Regions from separate parts of the Homo sapiens genome. Here region 1 is linked to region 2. Evidence: promoter capture Hi-C in human tissues and cell types (Jung and others, 2019). All regions are on one chromosome and are shown on one strand. Each heading gives the region's core, a stretch centred on a gene start or on the middle of the fragment in contact. The rest is flanking DNA. Distances are from core to core; before and after follow the strand shown. Region 1 overlaps KCNK9 (potassium two pore domain channel subfamily K member 9). Region 2 holds the start of KCNK9 (potassium two pore domain channel subfamily K member 9).

Region 1 (3,017 bases), core at 233-2,732, 44 kb after region 2:
GAAAAATAAGCAAACAAATACAATAGTTCTGACCAGCAATTTTACTGAATAGGCAACACATCTACATCGTTCTTCTGTGAAGACAGAATATGAAGGTGCTCCTTAAGACTCCCACCCCACTCTGTTCTTTCCATCCCATCTCCATCCCTCCCACTTTTTCCTGTTATCACAAATAGGGGATTGTTTTAAAAATCAATATATTGTTTCTGGTATACACACAAATATATATTATCTTATCTCCCCTTTCTTGCACAAAAGGCAGTATACTTGATCATTGTTCTGTCTCTTGCTTTATCTCGTAAGAATAGGCCGGGTGCAGTGGCTCACGCCCGTATTCCCAGCACTTTGGGAGGCCAAGGCAGGCGGATCATGAAGTCAGATCGAGACCATCCTGGTTAACATGGTGAAACCCCATCTCTACTAAAAATACCAAAAAAAAAAAAAAAAAAATTAGCTGGGCATGGTGGTGGGCTCCTGTAGTCCCAGCTACTCGGGTGGCTGAGGCAAGAGAACGGCGTGAACCTGGGGGGTGGAGCTTGCAGTGAGCCGAGATTGTGCCATTGCACTCCAGCCTGGGTGACAGAGCGAGACTCCGTCTCAACAACAACAACAAAAATAAAATCCTCGAGATCTTTCCACACCAATACAGGGGTAGGGTCCAAGCCAGAGAGAGGCCAGGGGTCTAACACCTGCTGCTGGAGGATAGGGGGAGAGGAGTATTCTCTATTTTTAATCAATGTGTCTGAGGCAAAGGACAAAGACAAGAGGGGAAACTCAGCCTGAACCCTCAGTCCTAGGCATGAGCTTTGTTTCAAATATTTGAAGGCAGCTCTTGTAGTGCATAGGGAAAGCCTTGGGTCAGGTCTCAGGGGGTCAGGACTCCAGCCTGGAGCCACCCCTAGCAAGTGAGGGACCTTTAGCAAGTCCCTGACAGCGGCCAAGAGTCAGGGTCGTATCCACGCAGGTGTTTAGGTCCCAGAGCGGTTTCTTGCCTATGAATTCATTTGACTCTCACAAAGCCCCGAAGACTCAGCGGCTTGATACATGCTGTTTCTTCCTCCTAGAATGCCTTTCTGGCTAACTTGTCTTCCCCCAAAACTTGAATTTTTGCTTCACACTCACCTCTAATCACAGACCTTCTGGGAGCTTTCCTGGGCTGCCCCTTCCACAACTGCCTCAGCAAACCTTAGTCCTTCCCGTGTACCCTCATCCACAGCAGTGGTCAGCACCTCGGACAGTGCCTGAGGCAGGTGGACTCTGGAGTAGAGGCCAGGTCCAAGGGCAGTGGCAGACTCAGGACATGGGCAGGGAACAGCCCAGAAGGAGAGCCACCTCGCTTCCTGGACACTGGCCCTGCACTTGGAGGCAGTGTGACCGTGGGGAAGTCCAGGCCTCTCAGCTGCAAAGCTGGGGCTCTGGAGTCTGCCAGTTTCACAGAGCTAGTCCCTGAGGACACATCTGGTTTGTGAGAATAGCATCCAGGACCCAGTTCTTGTTTCTTGGTGGGTGTGGCTGAATTCCAGAAGGCAGGGGTTGTGCTCTCCCCTCCGTGGTATCTTTTGTACAGTGGAGGTAGTGAGGCTTGGATTGAGGGGGAGCTGCGGAAAAGGAAAAGGGTACCAGTGGCTAGGGGCTTGCTGGGCAGCAGGGAAGTCAGGCGTGACCCGTGTAGCCTGAGGCCCGCATCTGGTTTCCTTGTGTTCAGCAACATTGTGGGGTGTTCTGGAGGAAAGAGCTGGGGGCTGGCCTCCAGGTGGGTCCAGCCATGGGGCTTTGGGATGGGTGTGCCTTCCCTGCTCAGCTTTTCCAGCAGTGGTTGTCCCCCCATGACTTACAGCATCCACTAGGTGGTCCCTGCCCCTGGCTGCAGTGCTCACTGGGCTCCTCTCAGCCCTTCAGGCCTGTGGGTGGTAATAGCTGCCCCCTGCTAGCCCCTTGTGTCTTACTGCCCTACTTGGTGCCCTCAACCTCTCCTTGCCTCTGCAAACTCTCTCTTCATTGAAGACAAGGGTCTTTGCCCTGATTTGATCCATCTGAGTGGATGCCATGACCTGTTTCATGCCATGACCCTGACCTGATACAACCAAGGACTTGAGATTTTATTCTAAACCCAACAGGAAACCATAGCCCATTGTCCATATATCTGCCCACCCTACCATGTCATCTCCTCTGCCTGTCCTGTGGGGGAGACCTGCTGTTGGACAGGGAGAATCCTGGGAGCAGGGGCCAGCCATGTTCTCTGCCTGGATGGGGGTGATGTGGGTGGGGACCGCTGGGATAGAGGCGAGTCCTGGAGAGGCCTCCCCACCCGCCAGGGTGATAACGTCCCTCCTCTGTGAGGAGACAGGAAGTTAATTCATGCAAAGCTTTTATGAATAAAATGGGGCCTTGTTAGTAGTGACCATGCGGTGCAGCTTAGCAATGATCTCCATTCTGCATATGGGGAAAGGGAGTGTCCCAGTCAACGCCCTATGCTCAGATCCATCCATCCCCCACTTCTGCAGTGTATGGTGGGAAGCTCAGTTTCCCAGGCGCTATTGCTCTCTGGCTCTGGGGGGTTTTGGCTCTGGGGGGTTTTAGTTCAGGGAGCCAGTGCCGGAAGCTCACAGGGCAGGATGATGAGAAGCTCCACAGGCAGAGAGGGTTCACTGTGGTGTCCCTGGCAGCTGCCACAGGTCCTCCCCGGCTCCTGCTCTGGCCGGGAGACCTGATCCTGACCTGCCTTCTCCCACTGCCTAAGGGTGGAAGCAGCTTCCTGTGCTCTCCTCATCACCTCTGTGACTAATGTTCTGGATTGAATTCCCTCTGTTCTAAATTCTCTCAAGTGGTGGTGGTTTTCTAGCCAGACCCATGAGAAGTTAAGCTCAGAGAGGTTCAGCAACCCACCCAAGGGCACACAGCTAGTTAGGGGCACCAGAATGCTTGAGTGCAATCCTGGCTCAAGCTAGCACCTGCCTTCCCACCATTCTCACTTCCCCAAGAGAGACAAGTGGAGGCTTCCTGAGGGCAGCAAGCTT
Region 2 (2,829 bases), core at 306-2,805:
GCGCCGGGTGGCTAGGTGGGGGGTGGGGGGTGGGGAAGACTTCGTGAACCGCTGCTGCCGCTCTCCTGTGTGCCCATGGCCCCCTCCCCTTCTGCTCCCCACTCTCTGCCCAATCTGCCTGAAGCTGTCAGCCTGCCATCTCTGGCTGAATCCCGTTTTCCTCCTCCAACCCCGAGTCCCTCAAACTCTCCACCCGCCAGGGCTGCTTGCGCTCTTGGGGAGCGGGGCTAGAAGGACCCAAGAAGCCGCGTTTATCCTCCCATCCCCCGCCAAAACCCGCCGGCGGCTCCGCCCCCGCCCCCTCCCTGGCGGCTCAGGCCGCCCCTCCCGGGCTCCCTCCGCGTGCGCCCTGCGCCGCGCTGGGTCTGCAGCGGGAGCTGCCACAGCAGCCTCGCCAGCTGGCTGGGGACCAGGCGGGAGGTGGCGCGCCCTGGAGGCTGCGGGAGGGAGGGAGGGAGGGAGGCCCGGCCTCGGCGTAGCCCGGCCCCCGCTCCCCGAGGCCCTCCCGCCGGAGCGGGGCTGCCAAGCGCACACACACACACACACACACACGCACATACACACGCGCACACACACATTCGGGCTCCCAACGGCGCGCACGCACGTAGCGCCCGGGGCAGACCAGCGCGGCGGCCGCCTCCCGGGACGCCCGGACGCCGGAGGGCCCCGACCCCCGCGCGGCTCATGCGCCCGCGTCCGCCCCGCTGCTCCGCGAGGCCCGCGGGACCCCTCCCGCCGCCGCCGCCGCGCCCGCCGCCCCCGGAGGAGCGGGCTGGCCGACCGCCACCGCGCCGTCCCCCGGCCGCCCCCGAAGCCGCTCCATCGCGGTCCCTGCCGTCCTGGGGCCGCGCCCCGCTCCCGCGCCTTGGGGGTTGAGCCGAGCAAACTTCGCGCACCGGCCGACGCCCGGCGGGGACCCCGCTGCGCACCCGCGCGCCCGGGTGGGCGCTGGGCGCGCGGACCTTTGGGGAGCGGGCTGCCCCTCCCGCTGCACCTGCTCGGCCCCCTCCCCGCTTGCAGGGGACTCCAGAGACACCGCCACTTCGCAAACTTTTCCTCCCCACCACCGAGAGGGGGCGAGGAGGGGTAAAAGGGGAAGCAGGTTCCGCTGGGCGCGCGGACCTGCAGGCTCCTTGCTGGGCACCGCCACCCGCGAGCTGGACCCACAGGGGTACCGGGCCCCGCGGCCGCCCTCCGGCCGCTTTCTGGCTCCGGTTCCCGTCCCTGCGTTTCCCGCGGGAGCGGGGGGCGGGGTGCGGAGGGCAGCAAGGCCCGCGCGGTACCCAGCGGGGCCGCCCTGCATGGCCCTGCGCAGTGGGGCGGGCTGCTTCGGCCGGGTCTGGCGCAGGGTGTCGGGGTTCCCGGACGCCTGGCCCCGGCGCTCGAGCAGCCTCCTGTGCCTGTCCGCCTTCTCGGCTGAGCCCGGGCCCGCGCCGCCCCTGCCCCGCCAGCCGCCTCGCGGTGGCGGTGGCTGTGGCGGCCCCAGCGGAGGGGGCCCCCCCCAGCCTCCCCGCCCCCCGCCTCCCCGCTGCTGCTGCTGCTGCTGCCGCCGCCGCTTACAACTTGGAGGCGGCGGCGGCGGCGGCGGAGGAGGAGGCGGCGGCGGCCGCCGGGCGCTGCAGTGGGACGCGCGCGGCTGTGAGCCTGCGGGACATGCCCCCCGCGCCGGCTCCTTGCTGGCGGCCATGAAGAGGCAGAACGTGCGGACTCTGTCCCTCATCGTCTGCACCTTCACCTACCTGCTGGTGGGCGCCGCCGTGTTCGACGCCCTCGAGTCGGACCACGAGATGCGCGAGGAGGAGAAACTCAAAGCCGAGGAGATCCGGATCAAGGGGAAGTACAACATCAGCAGCGAGGACTACCGGCAGCTGGAGCTGGTGATCCTGCAGTCGGAACCGCACCGCGCCGGCGTCCAGTGGAAATTCGCCGGCTCCTTCTACTTTGCGATCACGGTCATCACCACCATAGGTAAGGGCTGGGCGCGCCGCTGGGCTCCCGCGCCCCGGGAGGAGTCCGGGGAGGCGGCTGAGCGCGCCGCGCCGGGCTGGGTGCAGGGCGTCGAGGGTTAAACGCAGCCTCCCTTGGGGGCCTTCCCGCAGCGCCCCCTCCTCTCTAGGGAGCCCCCCCTCCGCGGCGCCTCCGAGCCTCACCCTTCGGGGACCCCACCCGGTGCTCTCCACCGCGCTGGTGTCTGGGCCGGGCGTGCGAGCCCCGAGCGAGTGTGCCTGAGCCGGGAGGGCGGAGGCGCCACTTTTGCGAAGAGAGTGGAGCGCTAAGAATAATCCCATAGCAGACACCCACCCACCCACCGCCCCGGCGCGGGCTGGGCTGCGCGGGGCTCTGAGCCTTACACTTACTACCTCTCTGGGAGTTGGAGAGGGCTGGCCTGGCACCCATGGCTCCTAGAGGGACTCAGGTGGCAGGGGAGTGCGCCTGGGGCGTGAGAGGCACTGACCCTCCGTAGCCCCTGGGCCCCGCTCCAGGCTTCTCTGAGCTCAGATTTCATCTCTCTTCCCCCCGCCCGGCTCCTTTTTTCCCCTGAGTTCCAGTTCTGGAGCTTGGACTTCCCAGGCCCCTGGGAGGAGAGAGTTTGCTCTCTGGTGCTTGCGTTGGGGGTGGCAGCCCCTCAATTGCTCTCAGTAGAGGTGGAGAGTGGGGGCAGGGCAGAACCTGCCCACTCCCTAGGCTGTGACACTGGGAAAGGCCAGTCTAGACATTGCCCAGAAACCAGGGAACTTGAGCCCCAGTCACGAGAGGGGGTCCAGCTGGTAAACTGCAGGGATGCCCGCCAGCCCCACTGCCAAGGGCGCTATTCACAGAGCAGGGTCT

What was found. Contacts are between HindIII fragments. The study calls those that stand out against the background at their distance.
Region 1: a fragment that was not itself captured here is called in contact with the fragment with the promoter of KCNK9 in region 2 in 3 of the 25 tissues and cell types used here (dorsolateral prefrontal cortex, pancreas and spleen).

What each region holds. Positions count from the first base shown.
Region 1 is chr8:139,657,112-139,660,128 of GRCh38, reverse strand. The region is part of intron 1 of KCNK9 (potassium two pore domain channel subfamily K member 9); the gene reads left to right. Among named protein-coding and RNA genes, the nearest start is that of KCNK9, 45 kb to the left of the region's middle. The HindIII fragment of the contact is 3,634 bases long and covers 1-3,017 here.
Region 2 is chr8:139,701,849-139,704,677 of GRCh38, reverse strand. KCNK9 (potassium two pore domain channel subfamily K member 9) reads left to right here and starts at 1,555. Exons shown (of 2, transcript NM_001282534.2): 1 at 1,555-1,968. The coding sequence starts at 1,686. RefSeq lists a silencer at 1,538-1,832. The HindIII fragment of the contact is 18,854 bases long and covers 1-2,829 here.